Linked DNA regions of Homo sapiens: region 1 is linked to region 2. The links are contacts of gene promoters, found by promoter capture Hi-C in blood cells and fetal thymus (Javierre and others, 2016). All regions are on one chromosome and are shown on one strand. Each heading gives the region's core, a stretch centred on a gene start or on the middle of the fragment in contact. The rest is flanking DNA. Distances are from core to core; before and after follow the strand shown.

Evidence for each region. Contacts are between HindIII fragments. The CHiCAGO score rates a contact against its expected background, and 5 or more counts as called.
Region 1: a fragment that was not itself captured here is called in contact with the fragment with the promoter of TBX18 in region 2 in 1 of 17 cell types (endothelial precursors); the score reaches 6.5 in endothelial precursors.

Annotation. Positions count from the first base shown.
Region 1 is chr6:84,965,325-84,970,389 of GRCh38, reverse strand. LOC105377881 (a long non-coding RNA gene) reads left to right here and starts at 2,586. Exons shown (of 3, transcript XR_942746.2): 1 at 2,586-2,625; 2 at 4,887-5,065. The HindIII fragment of the contact is 2,896 bases long and covers 1-2,846 here.
Region 2 is chr6:84,762,175-84,767,146 of GRCh38, reverse strand. TBX18 (T-box transcription factor 18) reads left to right here and starts at 2,549. Exons shown (of 8, transcript NM_001080508.3): 1 at 2,549-3,257; 2 at 4,399-4,603. The coding sequence starts at 2,966. It overlaps LOC124901353 (a long non-coding RNA gene), which reads right to left and starts at 4,806. Exons shown (of 2, transcript XR_007059666.1): 1 at 4,661-4,806. RefSeq lists enhancers at 2,342-2,636, 2,648-3,231, 3,232-3,816. The HindIII fragment of the contact is 3,607 bases long and covers 677-4,283 here.

The DNA of each region.
Region 1 (5,065 bases), core at 149-2,648, 200 kb before region 2:
AGCCCAGTTGCCACAAAAAGAAGCCCAAGCCGCATGAAGAAGCCCCATATAGGTGGTCTGGTTGACAGTTTTAGCTGAGCCCAGCTTTTTAGACATCCCAGCCCAGACGCCAAACATGAGAGTGAAACCTCCAGATAAGTCTAGTCCCCAGCCATTCAAGTCACCCTGGCTGTTTGAGTTTTTCCAGCCGAGGCCCCAGACATCACAGAACAGAAATAAACAAATCTTGCTCTGACCTGTCCAAATTTCTTACCCACTGAATCCTTGGACATAATGAAATCGTTATGGTTTTACACCACTAAGTTTTGAGTGTTTCATTACTCAGAGACACATAGAGCTGTGTAAGATGATTTCACTAGATATCTAAGCAGAGATATAAGTAGGTTGTAGGGTATTTAAGTCTTAATTTTTAGGGAGTAGAGATACAGATTTGAGAGTTTCAGTATCAGTCAAAGTGAGAGCAACCAGGGAGAAGTCAAGGGGTCCCAGTACCCAGCAGAGCACTCCAATATTTAGAGTTCAAGCAGAGTGGATAGAGTTGGCAAAGTGACTTGCAAGTATGGAAACCACACATCCCAGCTTGCCCAGGACAGCTCCTGTTACATCTATTGATCTATTGGTTTAGCATTACCTCTGTTGGGAACTTTTTTTTTTTTTTTTGAGACAGAGTCTCACACTGTCGCCTGGGCTGGAGTGCAGTGGCATCATCTTGGCTCACTGCAACCTCTGCCTCCCAGGTTCAAGCAATTCTCCCACCTCAGCCTCCCAAGTAACTGGGATTACAGGCATGCGCCACAATACCTGGCTAATTATTTGTACTTTTAGTAGAGATGGGGTTTCACTATGTTGGCCAGGCTGGTCTCAAACTCCTGACCTCATGATCTACCCACCTGGGCCTCCCAAAGTGCTGGGATTACAGGCGTGAGCCACCATGCCAGGCCAGTAACTTTTTAAACAATGTACTATCATCATTCATAGTTGCATGAAAATGAGCAGGAATAGGAAGACCCCCCATTTTGTACTTCTATCTTCTGTTGTGACATCTGTAGTGCATAAATATAGGTGTAAGTTCACACATAAACGGGTAGTTACATCTGAAAGTTGAGCAGTAATAGATAACCCAATCCTCCTTTCCCAGCTGATTCTAGAATATATGTAATATTCCCTTTCTAGACAGCATGGAGTGGGCTTCTAATAAACTGTGTAAAGACACAAGTGACCAGGACCAGCTAACTGGCTTCAGTGGTAGTGAGACATATTCGTTGCTGTTGCTCCTGTCAGTCACTTGTTCATGTCCTGTGAAATAGCCAAGGGCTTGAGGCTACCACCTGATAAGGTCAAAAAGAAACATGTGAGATAGGAAACAGAGGCCAAGCAGTCCTGCCTATAGAGATAGTCAGAGGGCTCTTATTATAGTGGATGACTGTTTTACAGTAGGAGCTATAGCTATTTACTTTTCTAATGTTAGGTTATACTTTTAAAATTTTACAATAAACCCTATAGCAGCAATGAGCTCAAAAGGTGAAAGTGCACGTTTACTTAAAAAGTAAGACTTGAACTTATGTTGAAAAAGTAAAGTGGTAAGAGTGTAACTTGCAAAATATATATTTTTTGCCAATATATACCATCCGTGATGGGGCCATAGTAATATTCATGACCCCATGAAAGGTAGATGACAAAATCTGCTGAGAAAGCACAAGTGTCTACTTCCAAAGCGAGTAGTTATTCTAAGAGGGCATATCTGCTAAAAACTACATAACGCATGAAGCTGCTGAAGATGGGTTTACATATGTAAGACACAGTGAATTTCTCTGAGTTTCTCTTCAGGGATTTAGCCTGCTAACTTCCTTGTCTTTTGTTCTCAAACTCAACTTTCCTGTTCCTCCTTGCCCCTAGTTACTGTCAAACAGCCTACCCCTTTCCTGTCAGCTCTAATCAATAACTCACATCTGTTCCCTTGGTTACCTGTAGTCATTGTTCCCCTGAAACTGCACATCTCACACGGTCCACCTCTGTACCTCACATCCCCGTCCCCTTCTATATTTAGAAAAATATGTACAAGTTGCCAATCGGGTCAGCTCAGATTGTGTGGTCCGACCCAGCTGATGGGGGAGTGACACAGAGGTAGGGACTATGTTAAGAATAAAAAAAGCCCCTGGTCGTCTTTGTTCAGTGTGCTCGTGAGATCTTGATTGATGCAGGTAGCACCCTTCTGCAGAAGTAAATTGCCTTGCTGAGTGCTGGTTTCACTTCACGGCATCAAGCATTTATTCCTAAAGCATTTTATATCCAACAATTCTGGGGGCTCGTCCGAGATCCCCATTCTCTTTCTGAAAGGGGTCTTCCATCACCCTACCCAGAGGAGATGGCGTCCCACTGCCCCGTTGCAGTGGCCTCAGGTACAAGAGATTGAGACCCCCCCGTTGAGACAAATGAACCCGGACTCTCAGCGATGCGGGGAGGAGAGGGTTGCAATACCACAGCAACCAGGTAAACTCTGTGCTCAGACAGAATGTAGGAAACGTCACAGGGGCAACAAAGCACTTCCTTGGTGGTTAGGGGTGGGGGTTGGGGCATTCCGGAGGCTGAGTGCATGAATGATAACAAGCACTACTGCTGTACGGAGTGAGTGAGTCTAATCTGCGGTTCCGAGGTCACTTCATAAGGCTTAGGGTGGCCCTTCAGGGGGTCCCTTCAGGGGTTTATTCTGACCTGCCATCAATGCTAAGAGGGACCTGCAATATTCCCGCGAGGAAAGCAGTCAGAGCAGACAAAGCAAAAGAAGGATGCAAGAAGACTCCAGCAGGTGGAGCTAAAGGATAGACGAATTGAGCCTTAGCAAAGCTTCCAGTGGAGGATAGGCAAGAGACCACCAAATATGAAGGGTTAAGCAACAAGGAACCCCCCAAATAGGCCAGAGATCCCTAACATGAGGGGTTGAGCCACAGCAAGCTCCCACTAGGCAAGAGATTCCTAATACGAGGAACTGAGCCTAGGCAGGGCCCTGGATGGGAAATATTACAAGCAAAAAAGATAAAGTTAGCAACAAAGATACCTCCTGATAGTCCCCTAGGTCTCGTGTTAAAACATTAGAAAGATAATTAAAATATTAAACATAAGAAGAGCAACAAATGATAAAATACTGCTGTTCCAATTGGACTCAAGGATCAATCCTTGAACCCTTAGTTTTCTGGCCAGAATTTGGGTTGAATGAGGAATGGATTTGTGAACTTCTAATAGAAAATGTTGCTAGTAGAAGACCTGCCTCCCAAGAGGAAATAGATTATGCCCTATGTTGGTGGCAAGGCCTTGTCCTTTCCCCTCCTCCAAGGATTGAAAGGAGCAAGTCAAAAACTAATCTTTGGAGGAAAATTAGTTGTACATGCGCCCCATTAAGGACAGAATCATCTTGAATGAAAAAGACAGTGAAGGAAGGGTCTTAGGGGATCCTAGCAAAAAGAACAGCACACAGGATCCCCTAGACCATCCCCCACCTAATACACCCCCCCCTTCCCCTCAGGTATCACTCCATAAGTCTGTTCTTCCCCAGCCTAAGTCCCCCTCCTCAAAAGGACTCCAAGCTCCTAAGTTGCCAGGTGGCTTTTGTCATCAAGGATCCGCCGCAACATGTTGTCAGAGTTGTACGGCCCATAGTGCACCTCCACGGCAGCCAAAGTCCATGCTCCTGCCCCACCAGCTGGTCCAGGGTCCCAGCACCATATTGACGGTGGCTCTACAGGACACACAGCCTGGGCCACAGCCTGTGCCCCGAGCAGACTACATTATAGGTCATCTGCCTTACTTTTGCCAGCGCCAAGTAATACGGGGCTTCAGCTGAGGCTCCAAGCAGCTAGGCATCTCTGCAGCTAAGTTTCCTGAGCAAGAAGTAGAACTATCTTTCAGCTGGTATATCTACTAGCATTTATTGTGGTCAGTCCAGTGTTAAAGGTGGAAGTATCCACCAGAAAAGAACTTTGATTCTTTAAAGTCACTTATATTAAAATGTGCCACCAGAAAAAAATTACAAATGTATAAGTATGAAGCTATTCTGTTAAAAAGGATGGTTTAACATTAACTACTAAGAACTTAACCTATCACATTTCTTAACAAGAGATCCAAATCTAAAAAGAAAGCACACATGTTTAGATTTAAGTGAGTACCATACAAACATCTGGCCAAACTTAAGAAAAACCCCCTTCAAAAGTGATTAAGGGAAAAAGAACACAATAAGTGTTCAGTAATTAATAAAAAAAAGTTCCTAGAGAAATAAAATCAAAGTGTTTAATAATTAGTCTATTCAAATTTATAAGCTGTCTGCACTTAGTCAAACTTTAAAGTACCTGCAGGACCCAGAAAGAACCATCTATACTAATTCTAAATACGCCTCTGTGGTAATTCATATATTTAGAAAATTTCAGACTGAATTAATAGTAAAAGTCAAAGCCTTGTTTATGAGGAGTTAATCACGTAAGTCTTAAATAACCTTCAGTTACCAGAAAAGAAAATAGCTATTGTCTGTGTCTCCAGGTACCAAAAAGCCTGTCTTTCAAGAGTCAAGAAAATAACCTAGCAAATCAGAAAAGCCGGACTGGCTGCCATTTCTCCTGTAGGCGCTAAAGAGAACTCAGAGAAATGTTATTCAAACCTCTTATGAAGGAAGTCCTATCCCACCTACATTAGAGGACCCATTAAAGACCCCAAGCCATGTATAGCACACTCAAAGTTTATGAGTGTATAGGAATTTATACCCTCAGCCAAATAAGTCTAGAGACTTGGTTGCCAGAGATCAAATGTCTTCTATCTTCCTATTCCAAACTACCTCTCAAAACAATCCACTGCCAACATTCCTACATACTTGGTTTATCTTCCACTTTCTCTTCCCTCAGAACTCAAAATTTTCCAGTACAGGCGCTGCCCCTAGAGTTCCCAGTACATCAACACCAGCCTGAGGAGCCGGCCTAGTACTTCCCACCACTGAAACCGCAGTCCAGGCAGCAAGAAAAGATGGAGCCATCACACCCGAGTCAAGAAAGCAACACCATTCCTCAAGTTGTGGACCATTATC
Region 2 (4,972 bases), core at 1,300-3,799:
CAGTAGCAGGACTAGGGGGCAAACGCCTTGTCCTGTCCTCGGCGCCCTACTCACACTTGAATTATTTCTAAGGGCCACGTTCTAGAAACATCGTGGATGTAGACGAGGCTCTGCTTTCCAGCCTTTCGGCAATGCGGACACCAGTCCCCGGGTTTCCCCGCCTGCTGGGGTCTGCTGCCCAGGGTGAAGGCGAAAGACATAAAGAAATGGCAGAGGAAAAGAAGAGGGCGTGAGGCTGTATGATCCCGAGAGCGCCTTGCAGGCCTGTGTATCCCTTTCTAAATCAGTTTGAGCTGCAGGACATATACAGGGAGAACTCCTTTGCGGAACAGGCTTTGCGTCAGCAAACAGTGTTTGTCCCTGGCAGTTTCTCCCAGGGTAGGGGCTCCCACTACCCCTGCTGAGCCCCAGCAGGCCCGAGGGCTCCGACGACTACACCCCTGGGCAGCAGCAGAGTCTCCAAAGCTGTAAGGACCGCTCGGAGAAGCACCGGGTAGCTCCCTTCTTGGGGTCCCCGAGAGCCTGGGATTGGGGCGGGGCACCTCAGCTGAACGGAACTTCTTCTGGCGTCTACTCCAGCTAAGTTAGCTCCCGCCTTGTCCCACTCCCACTCCCGGCCCAAACTCTCTAGGCGGCCTCTTAGCTCTCCCTGCCGGCGCCTGCCTTCGGCTAAGCTTCAGAAATGGGATTTGCGCTTCTTTTTAATGATGTAATACCGGCCTAGGGTACCCCGGAGCTTGGAGACCCACTAGGGACCACACAGCTCTAAACCGGTCGCAAAGCCTTCATTTTGTAAAATGCAAAACACCTCCTCCCAACTGAGTTTGTTTCTCAGGCGTCTAAAAGAGGCTTCCTCCGCAAGGATATTACAAAATCATTTTTGACCTCAAGGCTGCCAGGTTTGGCTGGGCGGCTTGCTCGTGCCTCTGCTCATCGCCTGCCAGGTTCCTACTCCCGCTGTGGTGTCCGGCCTCCAGGAACCGCGCGTTCTCTTCTACAATAAAAGGATCAGTCTCAGTGGCGGATCTACCCCCAAATGCTACTCTACTGAAAGTTTACAGAGAAGTCAGAGATAAAAGGGCAGCCAACGGTTGCGGAGATTGAATTAAACGAGGGACGAGGGAGAGGAAAAAATTCCTTTGTCATATATATATATATATATATACACACACACACATATGGAGACAGAGAGAGAGACAGAGACGGAGTCTTGCTGCGTCGCCAGGCTGGAGTACAGTAGCGCGATCTGGGCTCACTGCAACCTCCGCCTCCCGAGTTCAAGCGATTCTCCTGCCTCAGCCTCCCGAGTAGCTGGGACTACAGGCGTGCACCACCACGCCCAGCTACTATTTGTATTTATTTATTTATTTAGTAGAGACGGGGGTTTCACCATGTTGGCCAGGATGGTCTCGATCTCTTGACCTCGTGATCCGCCCGCGTAGGCCTCTCAAAGTGCTGGGAATACAGGCGTGAGCCACCGCGCCCGGCCTGCCGTGTATTTTATACAAAAGATGGAGTAATATGCACGATTAATTTTATTCCACAAGAGATTTGCTCTATTTATACCAAACATATATATATATATTTGTTAATCCTAACAAAAAGTCGAGTTGAAACTACAAAACAAATTGTACAAATATATATGTTTGGTGTCATTTAATTAAAAAGCACTGATTTTATTAAATTTGTTTTAAATACATCAATGGACTCCTTAAAAGCCTGAAGTAACGATTGTAAATTGTCAACAGTAGGACAAATATAAACTTACTTAAATCACAGAGAAGTTTTTCAAATGGGGAATTTTATTGCGTCTTCATACTTATTTCATTTTGCGAAGTTTTAAGGGGTTTTAAAGTTGTCCATATCGTTAAAGACGTACAGAATGAAAATCCCATGACCTACGTTTTAAAATAACTACCACTCTTTGAAAGAAAAGGTGGGCTGCGGAAAGGGCGTGCTTTTTCTGACATTTATATGACGGACTGAGCGTTAACGTAACATTTTGCACTCCTAAAGGATTTACATATTTCTTAACCTGGTATCCCCTAAGAAAAAAATCACGGAGTAAAGTTTAAATAAGCCTAAGCCATATCTGGCGCAGACTGAGTGCAGGAACATTTAAATGAGAAAGGAGGGGCCTGCGAATTCTTCCCAGCTTCCCAATATTCTGAGTTGTAGCAACATTAAGCGATACGGAAGTGGGACGGCAATTTACGGAACCTTGAAAGATTCCTGATTTTCTAACTTGTTGAACGTCTAGTTTAAAGCCGGGAACTTCCGCCTTTCCAGGTCCTGGTGAGGAAAGCTGGAGACTACGGGGCTGGACTCAGCTACGGACGTCAGAGAGACAGAGTTCAGCGTCCGTGTGGCTGGCACATCCAAGCCAGACAGCGGCGCTTTTCACTCCTGGTTTTTCGCTACCTTGTAAGGAAGTGGGCGCGGGCTGCGCGGAGTCGGCGCCTCCTGATTGGCCGGCCGTCTGGGTGATGGACAGGGACCCGGGCTCCGCCCCCGCCGCTTTATTGACACTAATGAGCAAGTTCTTCCCACCGCTCTCCTGCCTGGAAGTGCTGACAGATCAAGGCAACAAATTTCAATTACAATCCCTAATTTGTGTCCACAGAGTGTTTTTTACCCATGTTAGTCCTCTCTGGCGCATCAGTTGAGGCAGACCTCGGAGCAGCAGGAGGAGGTGGAAGGGGTGGGAGCAAAGGAGTGCATCAGTGAGAGAGCGCGCGAGAGAGACCCAGGAAAGGAGACTTGGCCGGCGCGTCGCCGGTTCCTGGATCCCAACACAAGCGAGAAAGCGGAAACGCCAAATCTGTTTTTTGCCCGCGGTGGGGAAGGGGGCAGATCTCGGGAGGCCCCGAGAGCCTTTTAGTTTTTGGTGGGGGAAGAGCGAGAGCGCGCGTGTGCCCGCGTGAGTGTATATGAGAGAGGGGCGGGCGGGCGCGGGGCGGGGGGGATGGCCGAGAAGCGAAGGGGCTCGCCGTGCAGCATGCTAAGCCTCAAGGCGCACGCTTTCTCGGTGGAGGCGCTGATCGGCGCCGAGAAGCAGCAACAGCTTCAGAAGAAGCGGCGAAAACTGGGCGCCGAAGAGGCGGCGGGGGCCGTGGACGACGGAGGCTGCAGCCGCGGCGGCGGCGCGGGCGAAAAGGGTTCTTCTGAGGGAGACGAAGGCGCTGCGCTCCCGCCGCCGGCTGGGGCGACGTCTGGGCCGGCTCGGAGTGGCGCAGACCTGGAGCGCGGAGCCGCGGGTGAGTGGGCCCCTTCCTGCCTATAACTTCTCTCCGGCGCGAACCTGAACTTCTGCGAGTCTGTGGGTGTGCGTGCGCGCCGCGTCCCTACATGGCCAAGGCCACTCAGCCACTAGCGCATTGGCCGTGTCAGTCGCAAAGCTCGCCGCGCAACCTGGTCACCCTCCAGACGGTTCAGATACTGCTTCCAGGCTCGCCTCGCGGGCGGCCGCCGCCCACTCGGCGACCCGCGCCTTCGGCCGCGGCTGTTTGCTGCGCCTAGCGGTGCAGCTCTGTGCTTCCTGCATCTGCCTCCCTTGGGGTTCCAGCCAATGGGTGCTCTTTTTTGTTTCCTAACTTTTAAAAGCACAGGGCGGGGAGGAGGGGAGCGACGGCATACCCCACCCTGAAACCGGAACGAATGCCCTAAACCGTTTGTGCAAACCAGGAAGAGGGCGGCATATTTGGAAACTTGGTTTCCCGAAGGGTAGTTGAGCGGTTCCCTTCCCTTCTCCTCTTGATTTCTCTGCCAAGGCCGACGGCGACCGCGGGCTTGCTTTTCACACTTTTCTCTGCTGGGCTGGAAGCGCAGGGCGCCGGGAGTTTGGCGAAAGCGGGGTCTGAAGAGCCTTCTAGAAGATGCCTCCGGCCCGGCCCAAAAGAAGGCCCAAAGCGAGGCGCCGCAGACGCTTATGGCTTAAGGAGGCCCAGGCTCTTGGGACCAGAGTCCGGGCGCTTTTGCTGCTTGCGCTTCGAGGCGCAGGTTGCGTCGGAGTTTGCACTGGGGACTCTGGACCCGGGAGCTCCTCTGACTCCGTCGGGCAAGCGTCCCAGACCCCGGCGGCGGCGTGAAGCCTTTTCTGCTGGGGCCTTGGCCCTGCGGAGGCCCAGCGGGTGGGGTGGACGCTGCCCGCGCGCCTCTCCCGGGCTTGGGACTTGGGGACCAAGCAGGCCACACTGGAGCTCTGAATGCGCCCCTTCGACAGGCAGAATGTGGGTGTCTATCGACTGGCTTGTTCTTTAGGAGGACCTGATGGCACCAAAGCTTCCCCTTTTCTCCCGGTCATTTTCCTCTTCTCAGCCACCAGGTGGGCCCGTCTCCGCGGCTGGCTTCCCCTCTGTTTCCCTCACCAGTTCCCTTTCTCTGTCCTTTGCTGTCCAGGCGGCTGTGAGGACGGCTTCCAGCAGGGAGCTTCCCCTCTGGCGTCACCGGGAGGCTCCCCCAAGGGGTCTCCGGCGCGCTCCCTGGCCCGGCCCGGGACCCCTCTGCCCTCGCCGCAGGCCCCGCGGGTGGATCTGCAGGGAGCCGAGCTCTGGAAGCGCTTTCATGAGATAGGCACTGAGATGATCATCACCAAGGCCGGCAGGTAATGGGCAAGCTGGCGTGGACGCCCCTCCCTACCCCAGACCCTGTCTTCACTCACCTCTAGCTCAATCAGGAAGAAGGGCCTGCAGCTCGGTGGGGGTTCTGGATAGCATTTTCGGTCAAACGGGACCAGGCCCCAGACCGTGGTTCACTTTGGAGGCTAGCTTTGGCTACCCACCACTAGTGCAGTCGGTGCACAGTCCAACTGCCCTCTGGTTGAATGCCAGGGAGAAAATTACTGTCGCCGCTGATGCCACAGCTGTCGCGGTTGATGTTCTGCGTTCAGGGCGGTTATAAATTTGAGGTCATATTTACCCTTGTCCAGGTATTTATTTAGGCTCTAGTTGTCAGTTCTGGAACTAGGAAACAT